4 separate regions of the Homo sapiens genome follow, and regions 2, 3 and 4 are each linked to region 1. Evidence: promoter capture Hi-C in 16 types of primary human blood cells and fetal thymus (Javierre and others, 2016). All regions are on one chromosome and are shown on one strand. Each heading gives the region's core, a stretch centred on a gene start or on the middle of the fragment in contact. The rest is flanking DNA. Distances are from core to core; before and after follow the strand shown.

The links. The method cuts DNA at HindIII sites, captures the fragments that hold promoters and counts their contacts. A CHiCAGO score of 5 or more calls a contact.
Region 2: a contact is called between a fragment that was not itself captured here and the fragment with the promoter of FAM124B in region 1, in 4 of 17 cell types (neutrophils, activated CD4 T cells, naive B cells and 1 more). The highest score is 6.7, in neutrophils.
Region 3: a contact is called between a fragment that was not itself captured here and the fragment with the promoter of FAM124B in region 1, in 1 of 17 cell types (erythroblasts). The highest score is 5.7, in erythroblasts.
Region 4: a contact is called between a fragment that was not itself captured here and the fragment with the promoter of FAM124B in region 1, in 1 of 17 cell types (megakaryocytes). The highest score is 5.4, in megakaryocytes.

Annotation. Positions count from the first base shown.
Region 1 is chr2:224,397,351-224,403,533 of GRCh38, forward strand. It overlaps FAM124B (family with sequence similarity 124 member B), which reads right to left and starts at 4,757. Exons shown (of 2, transcript NM_001122779.2): 1 at 3,687-4,757. The coding sequence starts at 4,418. The HindIII fragment of the contact is 5,745 bases long and covers 1,220-6,183 here.
Region 2 is chr2:224,664,551-224,670,777 of GRCh38, forward strand. LOC105373909 (a long non-coding RNA gene) reads left to right here. Exons shown (of 3, transcript XR_923955.1): 3 at 325-407. Among named protein-coding and RNA genes, the nearest start is that of CCDC195, 49 kb to the right of the region's middle. The HindIII fragment of the contact is 4,645 bases long and covers 367-5,011 here.
Region 3 is chr2:223,935,895-223,941,923 of GRCh38, forward strand. All of the region lies in intron 1 of WDFY1 (WD repeat and FYVE domain containing 1), which reads right to left. Among named protein-coding and RNA genes, the nearest start is that of WDFY1, 6.4 kb to the right of the region's middle. The HindIII fragment of the contact is 383 bases long and covers 2,415-2,797 here.
Region 4 is chr2:223,982,543-223,988,650 of GRCh38, forward strand. It overlaps SERPINE2 (serpin family E member 2), which reads right to left. Exons shown (of 9, transcript NM_001136528.2): 5 at 2,210-2,408; 6 at 139-239. Among named protein-coding and RNA genes, the nearest start is that of MRPL44, 28 kb to the left of the region's middle. The HindIII fragment of the contact is 6,938 bases long and covers 1-4,719 here.

The sequences.
Region 1 (6,183 bases), core at 3,507-6,006:
AGCCACATGGAACTATGAGTTCATTAAACCTCTTCTTTTGTAAATTGCCCAGTCTCGGGTATGTCTTTATCAGCAGCGTGAAAACAAACTAATAGAGTAAATTGGTATCAGTAGAGTGGGGCATTGCTGAACAGATACCTGAAAATGTGGAAGCGACTTTGGAACTGGGTAACAGGCAGAGGTTGGAACAGTCTGGAGGGCTCAGAAGACAGGAAAATGTGGGAAAGTTTGGAACTTCCTAGAGATTTGTTGAATGACTTTGACAAAAATGCTGATAGTGATATGAACAATAAGGTCTAGGCTGAGGTGGTCTTAGATGGAGATGAGGAGCTTATTGGGAACTGGAACAAAGGTGACTCTCATTATGTTTTAGCAAAGAAACTGGCGGCATTTTGCCCCTGCCCTAGAGATTTGTGGAACTTTGAACTTGAGGGAGATGATTTAGGGTATCTGGCAGAAGAAATTTTTAAGCAGCAAAGCATTCAAGAGGTGACTGGGGTGCTATTTAAGGCATGAGTGAACAGTGAATTAATTCACTCATAGTAAATGAGTCTCCCAATATCTGATGGTTTTAAAAACAAGAGTTTTCTGCACAAGCTCTCTTTGTCTGCCGCCATCCATGTAAGATGCGACTGCTCCTCCTTGCCTTCTGCATGATTGTGAGGCTTCCCAAGCCACGTGGAACTGTGAGTCCAATTAAACCTCTTTCTTTTGTAAATTTCCCAGTCTCCAGCCTGTCTTTATCAGCAGTGTGAAACAGACTAATACACAGAGTCTTGCTCTGTCATCTAGGCTGGAGTTCACTGGCACAATCTCGGCTCACTGCATCCTCTGCCTCCCTGGTTCAAGCGATTCTCCTGCTTCAGCCTCCCGAGTAGCTGGGACTACGGGTGCACACCATCATGCCCAGCTAGTTTTTGTATTTTCAGTAGACAGGGGGATTTACCATGTTGGCCAGGCTGGTCTCAAGCTCCTGGCCTCAAGTGATCCACCTGCCTCAGCCTCCCAAAGTGCTAGTATTACAGGCCTGAGCCACCACGCCCAAGAATTTTCTATCCTGAAAAATTCACTCCATTCAAAGAATCAAAAGCTATCTAGGAGCTACAATGTGTTGTCTTTGGATTATGGCTGAGCCTTTACACACTTTCCTCAGGCACTTTTATTATATGACACCAGAAGCAGAATTTTCCAGAAGGCGATCTCTCACTCTGTTTGCAAAAGCTTAGACTCATTGACTTAACAAGAGGAGATCAAAGCGTGTTTTGGAGTGAGGAAGCAGAAGTCTCTGAGGTTTGGAGGTCAGGACAAAGGTGATGTCCAAGGGGGCTATCAAGAGTGAGAGGCAGCTGGGCGTGGTAGCTCATGCCTATAATCCCAGCACTTTGGGAGGCTGAGGCAGGTGGTCACTTGAGGCCAGATGTTTGAGACCAGCCTGGGCAACATAGTGAAACCCCATCTCCACTAAAAATACAAAAATTAGCTGGGCATGTTGGCAGGCACCTGTAGTCTCAGCCACTTGGGAAAGCTGAGGCACAAGAATTGCTTGAACCCGGGAGGCAGAGGTTGCAGTGAGCTGAGATCACACCATTGCACTCCAGCCTGAGCAACAGAGAGAGACTCTGTCTCAAAAACAAAAGAGTGAGGGGCTGATGCCCCATTCACACCTGAGAAGTGGCCAGGCTCCTGGGACAATCCAGAGAGGAAGAGGGCTCTTTTCATACAATTCATGGAGTTTCTCTTTATCCAAAAAACTCTTCTACACTCCCCAAATGTGACTCAACTTTCCAAAGTAACTAAGTTGTTTAAACTGTGGTTCCATAGCAAAAATGTCAGTCAGCCTTAAAGACAGGAATGATTAAAATCATGTCCCTTGCTGCACACACACATTACATTTTTGTTTGACCATGAGGTTGATTTTAAGTACTAGAGAGTCGCTAAAACTGAAAGAAATTTTAGATGCCTTGGAAATTATGGGGTTTTATAATAGGCAACTAACAGAAACAGTGCCTGTCTACCTTATGTGAGCAAGAAGGTGAATAATTTAGAAATCATTTAATATGGAATATGATTCATGTTTTATTAACAAGTCAAAGTGATGACAACAAAATTAACCAAATGGAAAGACATCTCATCTTGTAGTCTCTTATTACTTTATTCAATAGGCCTTAAGGAGCTTCTGACCATTTCTTAAGGACAGAAGCCACAGGATATTTTGCTGTGAACATGACATTCATCCCCCTGCTTGCACATTTACACACATACACTGGACTGCAGCGGCTGACCACATGAACTTTGAGGGTAGATAGATACTTCCTATCTTGGGCAAATAACTGACCCCCTGGAAAGCTCAGTTTTCTTATCTCCAAAATGGGAAAAATAGTAACTTCATAGGTTGTTATAAGTATTAAATAAAATTATCAATTTAAGAGAATCCTTAGTATAGGGCATAATATGAACAATAATAGCTAAAATTGAGTTCTTGGCACTATCTTAATTATGTACTTTATAAGTGTCAGGTCATTTCCTGTAAGTAAGTATGAGAGAGGAAGATGCTAATTCTCGGGTGCCTTTATTGTGCTAATGAAGAAACTGAGGCCCACAGTCATACAGCTACTAAGTGCCCAGGCTCACATACCATGGAAAGGCAATGCACGGCAGCTATCATGACTAAATACACACATGCTATGTTAGGTTTTCGAGGATGGTTACAAAGGAAGGCTTTAATTTCAAGTTTTTTTAAGAAAGCATTCTATCTAACTTGGTATGTGGTAAAATTTGACAGTGATGCAAGATGCTTAAAAATTAAGTCAATACGAGTTGATGGGTGCAACAAACCAATATGGCACATGTATACCTGTGTAACAAACCTGCACTTTGTGCACATGTACCCCAGAACTTAAAGTATAATAATAAAGAATAAAAATTAAGTCAATAGTACTGCAAACTTAACATCCCTAAACAAGCTCGGCCAACATAGTGAGACCCCGTCTCTAGAAATAAAATAAAATAGCCAGACATGGCGGCACGTGCCTGTAGTCCCAGCTAATCAGGAGGCTAAGGCAGGAGGATCACTTGAACCCAGAAGGTGAAGACCTCAGGGAGCTATGATGGCACCACCGCACTCGAGTCTGGGCAACAGAGGAAGACTCCCATCTCTAAAAAATAAAAAAATTAAAAATTAAAAAAACCATATCTAAACATAAGTATGACTTCAACTTCCTTAAGTCAGATTAGAAGAGCTTGTGACATTCCTGAGCCCAAAGAGTAAACAAAGGATAGGGGTATAGTTGATGGGCATTTAAACGGCAAGCCTGAGAAAGGAGGCCGATTCTTTAATAGGATTCTGATCTTTATAGTAGAATCCTGTCTGATTCTACTATAAAGTACTTGTGTCAGCTGCAAATTCATGGAATCTGAACTTTCTTATCTGTCAGATGAGATTTTATGAGATCAGTGATTCTCAACCCTGTTACAGATTACAGTCATCCAAGAAGCTGTAAAAAAGTTACCTAGGCCTGGATGTTCCCAGAGATTCGGATCAAACTGCCCTGGGGTGGGAATTTATGAAAGACCCTAAGGGACGCTAATATGCAACCAAGTCTGAGAACCACTAGCTTAGGCCCATTCCGATGTAAAATTACACAGCTCCATGAGCCTCTACAAGATCTGAGACAAAACAGAAATACCTGAAGCAGAATCTTGTTGCCATCGTAGTCCTGAGTCTGCCACCTGGTGCTGCTGATAGGCATGCATGGATTGGGTAGCAGAGGCACTAACTGGCCGATCTCTTGAACCTTAAACTGCAGCACCGAAGACTCTTTGGGGTCCACTGACATTCCCGGGGGCAGCTGCTTCAGGGAGAGCTGCAGAGCAAAGCTCTTGGAGGCATAGAGCACGAAGAAACAAAAATTGCTCTTTTGCAAGGTCGCTTCTCTCTGCAGGATCATCTCGTAGAGTCTGATGGCGTCTTCATAGTTATCAAAACTGCAGTACAGCGTCACCCTCAGGATCTCGGAGCCACAGTGCACCTGCCTCACCCCCCAGATGGGCAGCTGACTGTCCAGGCTGTAGAACTCCTGATTGGCAAAAAAGTAGGGACACAGCCTTCCCCGAGTGTCCTGGGTGGGGTAGCACTGCCATGGCGAATGCTGGAGAGAGTCCAGGACGCGAAATAGCCTATCCTCTCCCGGGCTTTCGTGCAGGAAGAGCAACACGGACATCCCTGGAAACCGGGACCGCTTGGAATGGGACTTTTCACAGTATTTCACAGGACTGGCCCGTTCAGACACCTGAAAGAGCCGGACCTCTGGGCAAATGCAATCCAGGAGCTGGTCCAGAGTCCTCTGCAGAAGGGAGCCGTGCCCAGAGTTGGCAAGAAGATGGACAGTCATGGCCAGAGGCCCCTGTGTCTCATCCATGGAGGAACTGCCTGAGGCTGACAAAGACAGCGTGTGTAGAAGGCCCACTGTTCAAGTTTCTGAAATGAATGAAGAAGCGGCCCAGCCTTCAGCCCGCCTGAAAACCTTCAGCTGCAGCGGCTACTTCTGAGCAGAGCTCTTAACCAGACTAACACGTGCTCCTGGCCACCCGTGGACTTACGGCAAGAGAAGCTCACACCAGCTCGGGTTCAGCAGCCTCCCTCTCCACACAGCAGCAGCGGGGTCACGTCATCCAGCTTGTGCATAATGTAACTGCTTGTGTTTAGCCTTTTCAGGCGTTCCCCAGGGTTTCTGCGTGACCTAAAAACCTATAATCCTGAGAAACACCCAAATGGGCGGCTCTTATAGACACTTAGTACAGGAAATGACCGGCCGAAAAGGAACATGAGTTGGCTCTGTTAGGCTGATAGCAATCTGTTTAGTTGAAAAGACATCCATTTTATCAACTTACAACGGGTTCTCATTTCCTACTTACGGTTTACAGTAGCCTGCTCCACCAATCTGAATACAATGACTTCTTGAAAACAATTCTCAAAACCTGACCCTTTGCCAGTTTTTTTTTTCCTTTGTCTCTTTATTTCATTTTGTTTCTGAACATTTTCTGCTAGGGCACGAAGAGAAGACTTTATCTAAATAATTTTGACTTCACTGAAAATTATTTGCTGTACCGAAAATTCTGAGTGTACTAAAAAGACATTGAGAAAATTAGTCTTCCTTTATTCACGCAAATTCTTTAGAAAGAGTGAGAGCTTTCCTATAATTGCTCATATAATTATAATAATAAATAATTATAATTAACAATTGTAATTATAATTTTTAGTGTCTAATGAGGATCTACTATGTACCAGTCATAAACTGTTCTAATTCTTAAAGTAATTAGTTTTGTTTTGTTTTGGAGATGGAGTCTTGCTCTGTCGCCCAGGCTGGAGTGCAGTGGCGTGATCTTGGCTCACTGCAACTTCCACCTCCCAGGTTCAAGAGATTCCCCTGCCTCAGCCTCCCCAGTACCTGGGATTATAAGTGCGCCAACACGCCCAGCTAATTTTTTTGTATTTTTAGTAGAGACTGGGTTTTGCCATGTTGGCCAGACTGGTCTCGAACTCCTGACCTCAGGTGATCTGCCCGCATTGGCCTCCCAAAGTGCTGGGATTACAGGCATGAGTCACCACACCTGGCCCTTAATGTAAATTAATTTAATCTTGCAACAAACCTATGAAGAAGAGATTACTAGCCCCAAATTACAGATGAAGAAACTGGGGCATAGAAAGGCTAGGTAACTTGCCCAAGGTCTCACAGCTAAGAAGTAGCTGAAGGATGATTTGAACCCAGGAACTTGCTGCACTGCCTCTCTGGGGCCTTGAAGTCCCAGCCTGGGTATTCTTCTTGTAAGGAAAAGATATAAAAGCAAGTTCTGGTTAAGGATCTAGATTTGCAGACTCTTGAGCTGTTGAATCTTAAACGGAATAATCTTCAATGAGAAAGTTGTCAAGCTCTAAACACTCACCCTAAATGTGTTCTAAATATTGATTTAAAAATTATTTGTGGCCACGCATAGTCGTCACGCCTTGATCCTAGTACTTTGGGAGGCCGAGGCGGGTGGATCACCTGAGGTCAGGAGTTCGAGACCAGCCTAGGCAACATGGCAAAACCCCGTCTGTACTAAAAACACAAAAATTAGCCGGGCAAAGTGGAGCATGCCTGTAATCCCAGCTACTCAGGAGGCTGAGGCACAAGAATCACTTGA
Region 2 (6,227 bases), core at 1,439-3,938, 270 kb after region 1:
GGTTCTCCCCACATCTCACATACATAACTGCTTTTTGGCCACTCTGGTCTCAGTATGAGGAGCCTGGGAAGAGCTTAGGCTCTGGAATCAGGCGTGGGACTCTTTGGGCAGAAGATTCTGAGGTTCTGTATATGTGGATCATGGTTCAGAAGAAGAAAATGTGGGATCCAGGGGAGTATGTCCACTGGGCTTGTAGACTCCTTGGTCTGTGGGGAGAGCCAGTAGCCAGATGAAGGCCAGAGTGGGTTCCTCTAATGTGTGAGGTTCAGTTTTGCAGCCCTTGTTGCTTGAGACCAAAGGCAGTACTGTTTCTGTGGTTCCCAGGTAATGGAGACTTGATTTCCAGCAATCAGAAAAGCCTCACCAAGCTTGCTTATCCTTTCCTACCTGGAGTGAGACCCACACCGTCTCAAAGACAAGGTGAGAAACCATTATATTTGCTTCACCGAGATGGATTTTAGAAAGCCTAAACCATCACTTAACCTCATTTGATCCAGAATATCCCCTCTGAGAAACACTGTGTGTGTGTGGTCTTGAACTCCTGGGCTCAAGTAATCCTCCGACACACATTGGTATGTCCATGCTAACTTAAAGGCTGAGCAGATGCCACCAAATCTTGATGTTCTTTTGTGTCTGCTTATTGCAGTTTCCAATTAGGTGCTCAGGATACTTTTGCCTTGCCCTCCCAAACTGCTGTGGTTATAGGCATGAGCCACTGTGCCTGGCCTAGAATTTTTAACTGTATTCAGTAAGGACTATTTTAGTATCAAGTAACAGAAATTGTACTTAAACTGGACGAAAAAGAATACATATTTCTCTTTTCTCCAGAAAAGAGAAATACATATTGCCCACTTATCTAGAAAGTCAAGCAGTAGTGTTGCAGGCACAGCTTCACCAATAATATGGGGCCCAACGTCACCAATAATATGTCCCTCTCAATTCCCGATTCTGTTTCTCTTCATGTTGGCTTCATTTTTGGGCAAGTTCTCTCTTGTGGTGACAAAGAAGGCATCATGCAAGGTTAGCATCTTCAGGAAAAGCTCATCTTTCACAACAGTTATAATAAAAGGACCAGATTCAATTCTTTTTGAAACATCATGGGTCATGTGCCCCACCCTGAATCAGTCAATGTGGCCAGGGAAATGGGATGCACCTATTGGCTAATTTGAATCACATGCTTCTCTTTAGAGACAGGAGGTTTGTGGGTATGAGGTCGACTCATCTAATCCTGTAACCTAAGTGTTGGGAAAGGGTTAGTTCCTTGAAAGACCAGGCACTGACTTCTAGAGGGTGGCTGGATGTTGGCCAGGCCAAAACAGTAGTTATCTCCTACAAGACTGCAAAATCTAATGGGCTTTAGAGTCTGCCTTTAAAAGTGGGGACAATAAAATGTGCCTTACCTTACTTCACAGGATCAAATTCAATCCCTCAAATGAATTCTAAAAATTATAAAGGATTTTACAAAGGCAAGGTAATGTTATGTTACCTTTCACAGGTGATTTAACTAAAGGAATATGTAGAAAGACATTACTAGGGGCAGGCACGATGGCTCACGCTTGTAATCCCAACACTTTGGGAGACTGAGGCGGGCGGATCACGAGGTCAGGAGATGGAGACCATGCTGGTTAACATGGTGAAACTCCGTCTCTACTAAAAATACAAAAAGTAGCCGGGCGTAGTGGCAGGTGCCTTTAATCCCAGCTACTCAGGAGGCTGAGGTAGGAGAGTCACTGAAACCCAGGAGGTGGAGGTTGCAGTGACCCGAGATCGTGCCACTGCACTCTAGCCTAGGTGACAGATTGAGACTTCGTCTCAAAAAAAAAAAAAGAAAAAAAGGAAGACATTGCTGAAGTGTAAAGCATACCCAGTTTTCTTTATCTTACCATATATTGACCGCAATGTAATTTTGAAGGAGTTTGGAGAATATTTCTTCGAGTTTTACAAAAGGTCAGACTCTGATCATATGCTGATGACCCTAACTAGAAATTTCTACAACTTTATAGAAAACTTGCATGCATTACATATGCATGCATAGTTAGATGCATATATAGTTCCTTAACTGCATTAGTCAGAGTTCTCCGGAGAAAGAGCACCAGTAATATACATATGGATATATATATATACATTTTTATTTATTTATTTTTTTTGTGAGACAGAGTCTCGCTCTGTCACCTAGGCATTGGTTCATGAGAAATTGGTTCATGCAATTATGGAGCCTGAGAAGTCCCACAATCTGCCATCTGTAAATTGGAGACCCAGGAAAGCCAGTGGTACAATTCAGTCAGAAGGACGGAAAACAGGAGAAATAATTATGTAAATCACGTTCTGAGGGCCAAGAAGCTGAAATGAGGTGTCCGAGCTCAGCAGAGCAGGGCAAATTTCTCCTTTCTCCACTTTTTCTTTTATTTAGGCTCTCAATTGATCAGATGATGCCCATATACATGGGAAGAGCAGTCTACTTCAATGAGTCCACTGATTCAAATGCTAATTGCATCTGGAAATACCCTCCCAGATACACTCAAAAACAATGTCTAATCTGGGCACCCCATGGCCAGTCAAGTTGATACATAAAATTAACCATAACACCTGTCTTTGTCATATTTGGGTGATCAGCCAGCCAAGAAATGACATATTTTGAGAGCTTTCAGAGTTGCAGAGTCACTAGAGGGTTAATGGTAATGCAAATACCTTAGCTTTCACATCCTGTCTTTGATAAGAGTTTACGTTTTCAGCAAATAATCTGTGAAGTGGCTAATTTGCTGGGGGATAATGAGAATAGATAGTTACTCTGAAAATTGCTCTTACGCAATTCTACTTACTTTTTAATGGTGTCTCTTTTCTTTGTAAGAAGTGCCATATTTTGGGACAACATGGGGAATTTAATCATTAAGTTAAACAATAAACCCTTTAAACTACCTTAATTTCTTTTTTTTTTTTTAGATGGACTCACTCTGTCACCCAGGCTGTAGTGCAGTGGCACAATATTGGCTCACTGCAGCCTCCGCCTCCCGGGTTCAAGCAATTCTTGTGCCTCAGCCTTCTGAGTAGTTGGGATTACAGGCATAAGCCACCATGCGTGGCTAATTTTTGTATTTTTAGTAGAGATGGGGTCTCGCCAGGCTGGTCTGGAACTCTTGACCTCAGGTAATTCACCCACCTTCGCCTCCCAAAGTGCTGGGATTATAGGCATGAGCCACTGCACCCGGCAAACTACCTTAACTTCTAAGAGAGTCAACAATTCTATTAGTTGAATTATACGTAAGTAAATAAAACCTTGAAACAATGGAAAAACCCTTATACAAAAGGCAAACAATTAGAAAAGACTCAGTACCCTGGGGCCTAAGTAATATAATTAAAAGCAGGATTTTAAAAAATAAGTTTCTTTCTAAAAGCAGAGAAAGCACCAAGGTGATTGCTTTGTTTCCCACAGCTTTCAGACCCTGAGTGCATTGGTAAGGTTTTCCTAATTGCTATATTTCTTATATTTTGTAAAATAAAGAAAACACAGATCATTTATCTTTCTAGTATACAAGAACCATTTTGAAAGGGCCATTTCTCTTGTTTAAATGATAATTATATGTCATAACCTATAGTAAAGGTAGAAAGGAGGCTCACACTCCCAGTGTTTCAGGAGACAATGGAATAAAACTAGTTAAGATGTCATTGTTAAGACATAATAGTAATCAGTTAAGATGAGGTCATACTAAAGTAGGGTAGGCCTCTAATCCAACATGATTGTTGTCCTTACAAAAGGGGGAATTTGGACACGGACAGTCTCATGGGGAGAACACCATGTGAAGATGAAGGCAGAAATCTACAAACCAAGGAGTGTCAAAGACTGCTAGCAAACCACCCAAAGCTCGGAGAGAGGCATGGAACAGATTCTCCCTCACAGCCCCCAGCAAGAACCAACCCTGGCAACCTCTTGATCTCAGACTTGTAGTTCTAGAATTGTGAGATAATAAATTTAGTTTGTGGTACTTTGTTATGTCAGCCTGAACAAAGTAATTATGGTCCTCATTTTATAAGTGAAGATTCTGAGGCTCATAAAGATAAACTTGTCTGACGTCAAGCAGCCAGGACAGAGCTGGGGCTGGACTCAGGTTACTCCAAACATTGTGTTTTAAACCCCTGCATCGTTTTCCAAAACTGATCCAAGGACCTCTTGCATAAAAATCACCCGGGATGCTTATTAAAAATGCAGATTCAGGCCGGGTGCGGTGGCTCTTGCATGTAATCCCAGCGCTTTGGGAGGCCGAGATGGGTGGATCACCTGAAGTCAGTAGTTCGAGACCAGCCTGGTCAACATGGTGAAACCCTGTCTCTACTAAGAATACAAAAATTAGCCCGGCGTGGTGGCACATGCCTGTAATCCCAGCTGCAAGGGAAACTGAAGCAGAAGAATTGCTTGAACCCACGAGGCAGAGGTTGCAGTGGGCCGGGATCACACCACTGCATTCCAGTATGGGCAACAGAGCGAGACTTCATCTCAGGGAAAAAAAAAAAAAAAGAAAAAAAAAGCAGGTTCAGGGATTCAACTCAGACCCGCTGAATATGAAACTGGGGAAAGGTGGCAAGAGACTGAATTCTAAAAAAGAAACAACTCTAAATGAAAACTGTTAACACTCATTTTGCTTCTGAATTAGAGTCCCTCAACCCCCTCACTATGGTCTGCTGAAATTGAGGTGATTCTAGCACTAAATGAGAAATATTTATGTGTTCATCAGTTAGAATTTGGGCAAATTTTTGTCTGGACTTCAAATTTTGCTATTTTTTTCCCCCAGTGATGATAATAAAATATACCGTATCTTATCTCCCATAATCAAATTAAATCTTTTGAAAATGAAAGTTAAAACTTATAAACATTTTAGAAATGCAAGGGAATATTATGAAGTATCTTTATTCAGATCATCTAATTAACAGACTATGGAGGAAGATATTACTTCAATGTAATTCCTACCCATTTCTCTTGAAAAATAAACGCTGAGTTATCAGTGGTTTTATTCTGGAAAGCTTTGCTTTGTTTCTACCACAACTAATGCTCTGCCTGTGTGGTGGGGCAATTCCTAGCATCCTCCTCTCTGTTGAATCATCTTCTTCTCTTACATGATCATGCATTGTACTTCTATGCAAGCTTTGCTCATATTTTCCAAGTGTAAGGAGAACCTGATAATGCAGAGGGCTCATTTTCTTGATTATGTCATTGTTGTTGACTCCTTCAGATGGAGAATAATTAATGGTGTATACATATATATAATTTATATCACCACTATATATATAAATATAATTTATATATAATTTATATCACCATTATATATTTATATAAAATATATAATATATAAAAATATATTATATATAAATATATAAAAATATATTATTTAAATATATAAATATATAAAAATATATTATTTAAATATATAAATATATAACATATATAAAGATTTATATATAAATATGTTAAAATATATTATATATTTATATGTAAATATATAAAATATATGTAAATATATAATATAAAATATATATTTACATATAAATATATCAAAATATATTATATGTTTACATATAAATATATCAAAATATATGTTTACATATAAATATATCAAAATGTATGTTTACCTATAAATACATCAAAATATATGTTTACACATAAATATATCAAAATATATATTTACATATAAATATATCAAAATATATATAATGGTTATATTTATATATAAATATATATAAAGGTGATATAAATTATATATGTATACAATTTTTATACAACTTTTTACAAGTTTTTAAAAATTAGGAATTAACCCACTTCCTCTTAGTAGGGAAGAGTAAGGATGGGCCAATGTATTGCACCATTACTCAATGATGTGAGCTCTGCTGTATTATTGCAGGCGCTGCTGACTGTGAGGTACTATCACATTATTACTTCTGTTCTGTTATAGAACTCAGAGTCCTTCCTTATCAAGATTAATTGAAACATACAGCATGGCTGTATAACTTAATTATTGCTACTGAACAAAGCACCCAAAATGTAGTGGCTTAAAAACAATGACTTATTATTTCTCATGTTTCTAAGGATTGACTTGGCAGGTTCTTCACTGGGTTTGCTTAGGTGCATTCATGCAATGGCCTTCAGCTGGAGGTCCCCGGGGCTTGAACTCCAGGATGGCCTCCCTCACACATCTGGGCAGTTGGTGCTGGCTGAGGTGCCTCAGTTCTCCTTCATGGTC
Region 3 (6,029 bases), core at 1,356-3,855, 460 kb before region 1:
GGTTCCTGGTGAGGGAGGCAAAGGCACCCAGGTGGGAAATGTACCAGGTGTGAGTGGGACAGAACACACACTGACTTCACTGGACACAAAAGAACCATAATAAATGAGAGATAGAAGGTGGAAATAAAGCTTAGCAGGGAGCAGTTATGGGGTTCCCAAAGTCCTTTTTTTTTTTTTTTTTTTTGGGGACAGAGTCTTGCTTTATTGCCCAAGCTGGAGGGCAGCAGCATGATCTTGGCTCACTGCAACCTATGCCCCTTGGGTTCAAGCAATTCTCGTGCCTCAGCCCAGCTTCTTGGGAGGATTACAGGCATGAGCCCCTACACCTGGCTAATTTTTGTATTTTTAGTAGAGACAGAGTTTGACTATGTTGGCCAGGCTGGTCTCTAACTCCTGGCCTCAAGCAATCTGCCTGCCTCAGCTTCCCCATGTTCTGTGATTACAGGCATGAGCCACTGCGCCCGGCCCCCAAAGTCCTTTTACAGACATGATTAAATAAGGAGCTAATGAAAGGTCATGAGCAGGAAAAAGACACAATAAAAGCCTAGTTAAAGATAGGAGATTAGTGGGACAGATCCAAGTACAGTATGCTGGAACTCAGGGAAGCCAGTTAATAGGCTTTGAAAAATGAGGTTTAAAAGATGATGAGGACAAACACTAGGGTAATTATGGGCAGGTGGGCAGAAAAGAGTTCCCACAGCAGGCCTGCTGCTGCTGTCCTTAGAAAGTCTTGCTTGCAAGGTTGGCCCTTGGCAGGTGTCTGGGACCTTGTTTATCCAGAGGGGACCTCACCATTCCCTAACTCCTAAGAATGGCTCACTGTGCTTCATGCCTGTATAAAATATGTGGTTTATGTTGACCACCTACCTTCCTTCTGAGAGTTTGGAATTTTGGAACATTAGCCAAGGGCACCTACATGACCAGCCTCTAACACTGAATAAAGTCTCTAAGGAGCTTCCCTGATAAACAATATTTCACACATGTTGTCTTAATTCAATCTGAATTAGCCTGTCCTGTGACTCCACAGGAAGAGGACTCTTGGAAGCCTTGTGTCTGGTTTCCTCTGGATTTCACCCCATGTGCTGATTTTGTTTTGCGTCTTTTGGCTATGATAAATCACAGCCATGCGTATGACTATAATGTGTCAATCTTTCTAGTGAATCAATGAACCCGATCTTGAGGATCTCAAATATAGCAGGGGAAAGATGTCTAAGTGAAACTAATCACTGACATGACCTGCAAGTAACCAAATATGGAAATAAAGAAAAGGCATGACTCAAAGGCAGTTCTAAGAATTTAGGATTGTAAATAACCCCTCAAATGGTATTGTCCTATTCAAACAGGAAAAATTTTTTTATTTTCACTTATTCACGTGCACACACAAACATGCATACAAAGTAGAAACATATTACTCTTTCGTAAGATTAAAGTAACAAAATGCAAAATAAGTGGAAATGAAAATAATAATAGCTAACACTTGTATAGTGCTTTCTCTGTCCCAGTCTTTAAGATTAAAGCAATTAAATGGAAAATAAATGGGAATGAAAACAATAACAACTAACACTTGCATAATGTTTTCTCTGTGCTAGGCACTGTTCCACGTGGTTTAATTCACCTAATCCTCACAAAACTCTGTAAAGCAGGTACAAAACGGACTCATGTCCATTTTGCACATGAGAAAACTGTGATACAGTGAGGTTAAATAACTTGTCTAAGATCACAGGGCTGGGATTCAAACTGAGGCATTCTGGCTCCCAAGCCTTTGTTCTTAACTATGCTATAAAAAGAAAATGATTGTAACAATGAAGGATCACCCTAACAATACAGGAGTAAATGTGTGGGGTGGCCACCCAGGCTTCCTGCCTTCTCAAGTCTTCAGTTTATTTTATAACACAAATTAAAGTCTACTTTTAGGCTCTGCATGACAATGAAAATACAGCAGTTAACATCCTGGTTTTCTGTATTAACTAATGAATTCCAGCTATGCCAGCCTTCCTCCCAGGCATAACACTTAAAAATCAAGTTATTTATTTAAGATTGTTTCTATGTGAACAATTGGTAAATACACAAATTTTTCCCCAAACCATCTTAATAAACTTAGATATATCTAAGTGGAAGCAAATATATTACATATTTGGTATAATTTTTAAAAAAGGAAAATGCTAAAAAACATCTAAAAGTTGGTTTTCTGTAATCTTTACTCTTTCCCAGCCTAAGTGCAACATCTCAAAACATTTTAAATCACATGAGATTTATCTTTAACTTGGGACAAACAAAATTGAGTTTCCTGCAGAAACCAATCTTGGCCTACGAGCCCCTAATGCAACAGTATAAGTACGTCCATCCACAAACTCTATTTCTCAAAAGTGAAGACAGTAGGCCTATAGCCTTAACTTATTTATAAGGCTTTATAAAGCTTTTACCTTTTAAAAATTGTATCATTCAATCAACTGACTGTCTACATTTTTGGTGCAGTCCACAGCAAAAAAGTCCAAAAAGCAAACATACTGGTTCCTACTGTCTCACCATTTTAGTTCCGCTCTGAAAGCAGAGTCTTATTTTCTGTTTCCCCTACCAGGAAAGTCACCACTGTAGTTCAAATTCTTAAACTTAAATTTAAATTAAAGAGCTTAAGGTAATTATTACTTCAGCAAAATACTAATGACTTCATACAAGAAGTAGTACCATTTTCTATTAACCATTCACGAGACATTAATCCATAAAGGTTTCTAAGCAGAACCCTAAGCTGACCACCCAAACCACTAATGACCTGTGACTCCCAGGTGTAATGGCATTAAGCTTTGATATTCCACATTGGCTTAATACTCTTTGGAGTGCTGACCGTATCTAGCTTTGTCATATGCAGTTTGATTACAGTGAACTAGGTGGCTATCTGTGAATGACCCCAGGTAAATATATCCCAGAAGGTGACAAAAAAAAAGAGGATAAAATGTAAGCAGTATTTTTTTTTTTTTTTTGAGACAGGGTTTTGGTCTGTCACCCAGGCTGGAGTGCAGTGGCACGATCTCAGCTCACCTCAACCTCCGCCTACCGGGCTCAAGTGATCCTCCCGTCTCAGTCTCCCAAGTAGCTAGGATTACAGGTGCACACTACCATGCCTGGCTAATTTCTGTATTCAGTATTCTTTCTTGGTGGTTGTACATAGGCAAGCACAGTGACAAATAACCCTCCTTTCTTGTAGAGCCGTGGTTCTAAGTGTGGTCCCTGGACTAGCAGCATCAGCATCAACGTCACCTGGAAACTTGGCAGAAATGCCAACTCTCAGGCCCCACCTGACTTTCCAAATCAGAAACTCTGGGGGTGGGGTCCAGCAACCCGAATTTCAACAAGACCCCCAGGTGATTCTGATGCACATTCAAGTTAAGGAACCAGTGTTCTAGAGAGGCCAGATAAGTACATGAAGCCCGGACTGGGGTTTCTCAATATCAGCACTATTGACATTTGGGGCTCAATAATCCTTTGGTGTGGGGCATAACAGGATACTGAGATGCATCCCTACCCTCTACCTAGATGCCAGTATTAGTTACATACAGTATTAGTCCGTTTTCACACTGCTGATAAACACATGCCAGAAACTAGGTAATTATAAACAAAATGAGATTCAATGGACTCACAGTTCCATGTGGCTAGGGAAGCCTCACAATCATGGTGGAAGGCAGAAGACATGTCTTACATGGTAGCAGACAAGAGAGAAATAGGAACCAAGCCAAAGGGGTTTTCCCTTGTAAAACCATCAGATCTCCTGAGACTTACTCACTGCCACGAGAACAGTATGGGGGAAACTGCCCTCATGATTCAATTATTTCCCACTGGGTCCCTCCCACAACACATGGGAATTATGGGAGCTACAATTCAAGATAAGATTTGGGTGGGGACACAGCCAAACCATATCACCTCCCCCACATCATGACAACCAAAAATGTCTCCAGATATTACCAAATGTTCCCTGGGTGGGAAAACCACCCCTGGCCCAGAACCACTGGCCTAGATTTTACAAAAGTGGATACTAACTTCAGGAAAACCTTCATACCTTTCACTTTTCTTCTCAAAATGCTCTCAGCTAGTTCTCACTGCTTTTAGCGTTTGTAAAATGAATTCACTTCAGCTGGACCCTACTTTAAATGTAAAAAGCTACTGGCTCATGCCTGTAATCCCAGTACTTTGGGAGGCCGAGGCGGGTGGATCACGAGGTTTGGAGTTCAAGACCAGCCTGGCCAAGACGGTGAAACCCTGTCTCTACTAAAAATACAAAAGTTAGCTGGGTGTGGTGGCGGGTGCCTGTAATCCCAGCTACTCGGGAGGCTGAAGCAGGAGAATCGCTTGAACCTGGGAGGCAGAGGTTGCAGTGAGCCAAGATCATGCCACTGTGATGCATGCAGTAAATAAAGATTACAAACAGTCTCATTTGTTCAGGCCAAATTTTAGCACCAAACGAGTTTTCAGGTCCAATTTACACACACACATACACACTTCTGACGTTTAGAATGCACTAAATTTTGGAACTGCTGATAAGAGAAGGTGACTGTACCTACCTTATAGGGAGGAAGTGTGAGGATTGGATCCAATAACACATAAGGTCCAATTCTGTACTCGTAGAGAAAAGGGACTTTCAACAGGTTAGCTATTGTTATTTCTAAATTACAAATTCCGATCATATCATTTGCTTGTTTTGAACTCTTTGATGGTTCTACACTGCCTGCAAAATAAGGTCCAAATTCCTTATTTCTTTCTTTTTTTTTTTTTTGAGACAAAGTTTTGTTCTTGTTGCCCAGGCTGGAGTGCAGTGGCGTGATCTCAGCTCACTGCAACCTCCGCCTCCCAGGTTCAAGTGATTCTCCTGTCTCAGCCTCCCAAGTAGCTGGGACCACAGGTGTGTGCCACCATGCCCAGCTAATTTTTGTGGGTTTTTTTGTTTTTGTTTTTTGAGACAGAGTTTCACTCTTGTTGCACAGGCTGGAGGGCAATGGCATGATCTCGGCTCACTTCAACCTCTGCTTCCTGGGTTCAAGTGATTCTCCTGCCTCAGCCTCCCAAGTAGCTGGGATTACAGGCATGTGCCACCACGCCCAGCTAATTTTGTATTTTTAGTAGAGATGGGGTTTCTCCATGTTGGTCAGGCTGGTCTCAAACTCCTGACCTCAGGTGATCCACCCGCCTCGGCCTCCCAAAGTGCTGGAATTACAAGTGTGAGCCACTGCACCCAGCCAATTTTTGTATTTATAGTAGAGATGGGGTTTCACCATGTTGGCCAGGCTGTTCTTGAACTCCTAACCTCAGGTGATCTGCCTGCCTTGGCCTCCCAAAGTGCTGGGATTACAGTCGTGAGCCACCGCACTTGGCCCCCAAAAACTTTTTTTTTTTAATTTAAAAAACAAAACAAAACCGGACACTGGGTCCTTCTAGCTCTCAGTCTTCTCTGTTGCTATTGTCACTGCCCACCTTTTGCTCTGGTCACTTAGAAATAGCTATGGTTCTTTCCCTCTTACAATTCCCTCCTGTCCTTTCCTCCTTCCTCTGCCTGGGATGAGGGTGCATCCCTCCTTCCTTTCTAGATGCCACTCCTCTATCCATGAAGACCAGCTCAACGACCTTCTCTAGGAGGCTGTCCCCAAACCCCGGCCCCAGCCCAAAGAGCCTCCTCTTCCTGTGTCTTCCCAGCACTGGATGCTGAATACATAGGGGCCATCTCTTCACTAGACTGTTCAGCCCTTGGGAAAGAGCAACTTAGCTGTCAGCTGTCTCTCCCCCACAGGTCTAGCATGGGCCCCACACACGTGCTGGGATTACAGGCGTGAGCCACCTTGCCTGGCCAAGGTAGTGTGGCTTTTGACCCCTGTTGTGTCCTCAGGGCCTGACACTCAATAAAAAAGCTTTTTCTAAATGAATGAGTAAATGAGTGAAGAACGTGACACGTATTTATGACAATGTGAAAACAAACCACCATGGCTAACACCAAGAAAAAACCCACGCCCATGTGCTTTCATTACATCTCATGAAGTGTAGCACCT
Region 4 (6,108 bases), core at 1-2,500, 420 kb before region 1:
TTTGGCAATGTATCAAATGAAACCTTGTACAGTTTCAGGGCAACACATTCCTAATTCTGATCCTTTTTCTCTGCACAAATCAGTCTCAGTTTGTAACACTTTCTTCAAGTATACAAATACATTTTAAATTGAACATACTTGTTATTTTTGCAAAATTTGCCTTTGATGAATCAAACATGTCAGTAATGCCAAGAACTTTCAGCGGCTCCTTCAAATCTGTTTGTGCTACAGCTGTGAACCTAGCATGAAAGCAGAAATGGAGAAAAAAAATCACGAGGCTATAAATGCTACATGATAGAGTCGGTGCATGTTTACAAACTGATTCTTTTAAAGTTAATATCTGAATACCGATCTGAATTGCATCTTAAATTTGAATTCCAAATTTAAATACCAGATAAGTAAAGGACAACTCCTCTCTCAAACACTTAGCTGGCAAAATGAGTCATATGTACTAACGGCAAGAATAGGCGCTCCCACCCTCAGGTGTAATGGGCCCCCTGTTCCAATACTTAGGAAGATCTACAAACATACTTTCTTTTATACTGACGTGGAGGTTGAGTGTTAACAAGTTCCTAGTACTCTGGAATATCTATTATTCTTCCCCATATCCAACTAAAGTTCTCCATATCCATCTTGGCTGCTCTAAGACCTGCCATCCTTATTGGGATTGGAGATGGTCAAAAGAGAGGAGAAACATTCCTGATAGTTCATTTTGGGATTCTTTTTTTTGAGACAGAGTCTTGCTCTGTGGCCCAGGCCAGAGGACAATGGTGCAATCTTGGCTCACTGCAACCTCTGCCTCCTGGGTTCAAGCAATTCTCCCGCCTCAGCCTCCCAAGTAGTTGGGATTACAAGCACCCACGACCATGCCTGGCTAATTTTTTATATTTTTAGTAGAGACGGGGTTTTTCCATGTTGGCCAGGCTAGTCTGGAACTCCTGACCTCGTGATCCGCCCACCTCGGCCTCCCAAAGTGTTGGGATTACAGGTGTGAGCCACCACGCCCAGCCCCTTTTGAGATTCTGAAAGTATTTTACTATTAAAACAGGAGCAAAGATTAGGCATAGGTGACACGGTATTATATTTGGGTATAATATAGGTTTCTTGAATATTTGTGACCTACTTGGCCTTGGGGATATATGGAGATATATGCACACACACACACACACACACACGTATATATATGTGTGTATATGTGTGTGTGTGTGTGTGTGTGTGTGTGTAAATGTCAGTTACTGTCATCAGAGGATGCTTTATCAGATTTGATCTCATCCTGTGGAAGAGCACTAAGGAGACGTGGGCAGATTCTCACCACAGATGGGCTATAATGGTAAAGAACCTGTTCTTCACCCATTGAGGCCTACGATGCCACCATCTTATTTATTTATTTATATCAAGCATTGCCTACTTGAAGGCTTATTTTACAAAAAAAAAAAATCTTGAGAGAATTAGTAATACTTATTGTGAATGTCTTACTCTGATTACTTAACTCGGTGACCAAAGAATCAAAAGCTATTAGAACTCTCCACTACCACCAAGACCTGGGTTGTTAAAAGCTCTGGATGGTGGGAAGGCAGCAATGTTGAAAAGTTCATAGAAAGGGAACAACATTCATTGCTTCTTCACAGTTCTGGACAAAGCATTCTCTGACCTGTTAGAACATGAAGATTCATACAGGATTTGGGGTTACTTTTCCCATGGCTTCAAGTCATAACAGCTCAAATTCCATCTTTGTCTTACTCTTAGGGTATAATAGAAAAACTGGCTGCCTTGGTCTTCATGAACTTCTAGTTAAATAAATAAATAACTAAAATGAAGCTCCTTATGAAAGCACATGGAGTTCTATTAAACCTCACTGTACTTTCATCCATACTATGATGACACACGTGTGTTTTCAGTCTTTTAAATACAATGAGATATGTCAAAAAGCCCCTGCAGTACCATGAACTGCTTATGCTCATGTGGAGGTTTAGAGACCAAGGTTGCCCTCTCTCCTTTCTTATGATCCATATCTTACCATACAGGAAGCACAGGCATTGAATAAAAGCGTTTAGAAAAGCACGGCCTCGTAATCCCACCATGAAATTTCTGCAGAACAGAACAGGCTTCATGATGTGCCATATTTTCGCCTCATGTTGTCTGGTGTCCGACATAACACCTGCTGATTGAATAATGCCACTGTTTTCTTTGAGGGGAAGGGGCCACTTACTTGGGCAGGATCACCTGCACCCTCTTGGGCACCATGATGCTCATCCAGCTGTCTATGGTCTTGGTGCTGATGTGTGGGATGATGGCAGACAGCGGAGTGGAGCTCTCAGTCGGCAGTGCAATCAGCATGCTGATGCTTTCCCCGTGGTAGGGCAGTTCAATGAAGTTGTACCATAAATCATTGGGGGCACTTGTCGACCCTAAAGAAATCAGAAGCAGGTTCAGTGTATCCTTGTTGACTTCTAGAAGCAGGATGAGTGCTTGCTGGTCACCGGGATAGCTTCAGAGAGCAACTCAGTTGGAGAACTTCCCTTTTCCACAAATAGCTTCCTTAGAAGGACAAAGACAAGGACAATTATTTCTTCCTTCCCCAGTGAAGAATTCTCCTTTCTTCAGTCTAGACAGAATGCCTTTGGGAATCACTGAAATCACTTTAATTCTGTTAAGGAGAATTTAACTAAATCACAAAGTGCTTAAAATTCAGTGCTTTGCAAGAAGTTGACCCTCACATGAATAAAAGAATACATTCAAGCTGCCTTAGAATCATTCCTTTTTTTTTTTTTTTTAAATAAAGTGTATTGTGTATATTAAGGTACACAATATGACGTTATGGGATACATATAGATAGTAAAATAGTTACTATGAAAAAGCAAATTAACATATCCATTATCTCACATAATTACCCATTTTGCTGTTTTTGGGACAAGAGCGGCTAAAATTTACTCATTGAGCAGGAATCCCAACATGGTGCAATTTTATTACCTCTAGTCCTCATTTTGGATAAGCCTACATGTGCAGGTGAAGAGAGACAGGGATACAGAGCATCCACAGGGCTCACTCTGTGCCAGGCCCATATCAACCCTTCAACAGGCTGAGGATCTACAGCACCTCACGGGGTAGGCGTAAGCAGTGCTATTTTGCAGTTGAGAAAGCCACCTTTAGAGAAATGAAGTAACCTCCAAAGGATGCACGGCTAAGAAGTGAGGAGCCAGGAGAGTCTAATGCCAAGGATTGTCTTCCTCCTACTTCACCACCCTGCCCTATTCACTCTTCACCCATTCCAGTAATCACCACTGGAGTTTTAGATACTTTATGGTACTTCTACTTACTAATGAAAACCCAAGAATAATTTAAGCCAGCATTTCTCAAATGTTATTTGGAGAACAGTCTACCTGCAAGATGCTCTATAGACAAAACAGATTCCACATCTTAGGGAGTTCAGCAAACAAGAAGAGAGAAAGCAAGTTTCTTGCACGATTTTCACTGATCTTTTCTTTGGAGATGACATGTGCCAATCACTGCCTTTGAGACAGGGAACTTCAATATGCCAGTTCTCCATAGAACAGGGTTGGGAGGGATGGACAGAGGGAGAGATGAAGAGAAAGATACCAAGAGAGGGAAAGAGAGTGTACTTGATGAACACTGAAATATCATAAAAATACTGAGGTTATTAGAATATATGGCACCACAGGATGACACTACAGTTTTTCCCTAAGGAAGAAACAACATAGAGAACTGGCAGAGGAACTGGGGCTCTCCTGGTCCTAGCACACTGCATTTCCTGCAGGGCTGTTCAGTAACCCGGGTGCAGCTCGCCTCAGCTCCCATGTGTGTTGAACTCTCACCCAAGCCTGGCTTCTGTCTTGCGGCAACCTAAGAATGAAAGAGAGGATTCTTCGTCTTTACTCTTAGCCTGCATAACAAAATGGTCTCAGCAGAAACGGAAAAATCAATGGGAAAGTGAGAAAAAAATCACTTCCTAATGAGCTCTTTAATCCTTGAAGAAAACATTAAATCTCTATTCTGGCGGAGCTAATTTTCAGAAACTGTGAAATATGGGAAGTGGTTAATAAGTGATTGCTCCAGGGCATGAAATAAGGACCTGGAGGTGTTAACTGCTTCTAGAAATGTTTACTATTTCTGTTAAGGAGGATTGAAGTAATGAATAATGAAAAGTTATGAGCTGGAATGTGTTCAAGGGAGGAGAGAGATCATCTAGCTTCACCAGTTAATCCATCCTTGGCTGGACCCATTATTAACTGATCAGTAATATTAATAACCATGAACCGCATCCAGTCACCTCTGCTTGATGACTGATTTCCCCCCACTCCTTCTGCTTCTGACCACAGAAGCTGATGACCAGTGGTAGCCAGGGTGCATCAGACATACGCATGCTTACCTTTATTTGGTGCCTTGAGGAGCTGGGAGATAAAATAACACCTTTTCTGTCTTTCTACCTGGTCACTCAAGTACTGCATCCTTTTATAGAGGACACGTGCCAAAGCCACGAGATCTGGGGTTATAAGACCTGTATTCAAATCCTGCACTTGTAGCACACTAGCTCTGAGACTTTGGCAAGTTCCTTGACTCCAAGTCTTAGTTTCTTTATCTGTAAAAGCCTACAATAATAGCACCTACTTTACAGAGCTATGAAAATTCATTGAGACAACACATACAAAGTGCTCAGCATAAGCTGGCCCATAGCAAAAACTGCCGTCTTTTGATGTAAGAAGCTTTGTAAAATACCTCACTTCTTGCAATGTGAGGTCCCTGCTCACAGTCTAAACACAAAATCGGCCCACCCAGGTAAACTACATGGAATATTACGTAGCTGATAAAAGCACAACTCCCAAGCAGAATGAATCAAGTAAGGAAGGGGACTTGGGAGCCTTGTGTCAGAGCATGGAGCCTCTCATCGTCCCAGAGCTTTTCCCTTTAAAATCCCCTACCCGATGCTCTCTATTCTTTAACCTCTGGAAGGCAGACTGAGTATTCTTTAACAAGGGTCATTTCTGCAGTGTATAAAAACGTAAGTATAATAGGTTGATTCATTCTGAAAAGGAGCGGAGGTGAAAAAGAGAAAATAAGGATTTTCTCTTAGATGAATGGTGGTCAACAAAACTTCTAATGGGAGACAATAAGTGAAGAATCAAGCATTAAAAATGTGGAGGAGATTTAGAACTTTCTCTAAGTGGTGTTTTGGGTGACCCAGTTTTTCCAGAAAGCCCCTGAAGTAATCTGATTTCCACTTTAAGTGCTACTAGGGAAGACGTAACTAGGCTCACTGAAATGTTAAGAGCTCACACTGTAAAATCAAAGAGGGTATCTTAAATATTTAATATCAGGAAACCTTTATAGATGAAAGTCCCTCTAATTACCTTCTACTACAAGTAAATATGGATTTCCTGAGGACTTAAGAAACTTTTTAGACTGCACTTTAGTAGAAATTGAAATGGATATTTTGGAAAAACAACAGCAAAATGCTCCATCGTGTGCAATACTCTACATTCTAGGCTGGAGTCCAAAGGGAGTTCGGGGACAGTAGCTGGGGAAGGAGGGGTGGCGTAAGTAACTGGGTGAGTATTGGTGCCATTTGCTGCTAAGGAACGATGGGTTGAGAACTAAATGGGCAAGGGCAATACATATATTTATTTACTGAGACAGGGTCTTGCTCTGTTCCCCAGGCTGGAAAGCAGTGATGTGATCAGGGCTCACTGCATCTCAACATCCTGGGCTCAAGTGAACCCCCGACCTCAGACTCCCAAACAGCTGGGACCACAGGTGAGCACCACCATGCCTGGCTAATTTTTAAACATTTTTTTGTAGAGACAGGGTCTCGCTATGTTGCCGAGGATCATCTTGAACTCCCAGGCTCAAGCCATCCTCCTGCCTCAGCTTCCCAAAGTGCTGGAATTACAGGTGTGTGCCATGGTGCCTTGGCATAAATGAGTTTCATCTATGCAACTAGAATTTAGTAGGCAACCAAGTTAAGACGTAATGTGAACAGACAGGTATGAGTTAGAAACTCAGGAGAAAAGAAGATGGAAATATAAATTTGTTATTCTTCATGTTTTTTTTCCAAAATAAAGTCTCAAATGTCTAAATTCATAACCATAAAAC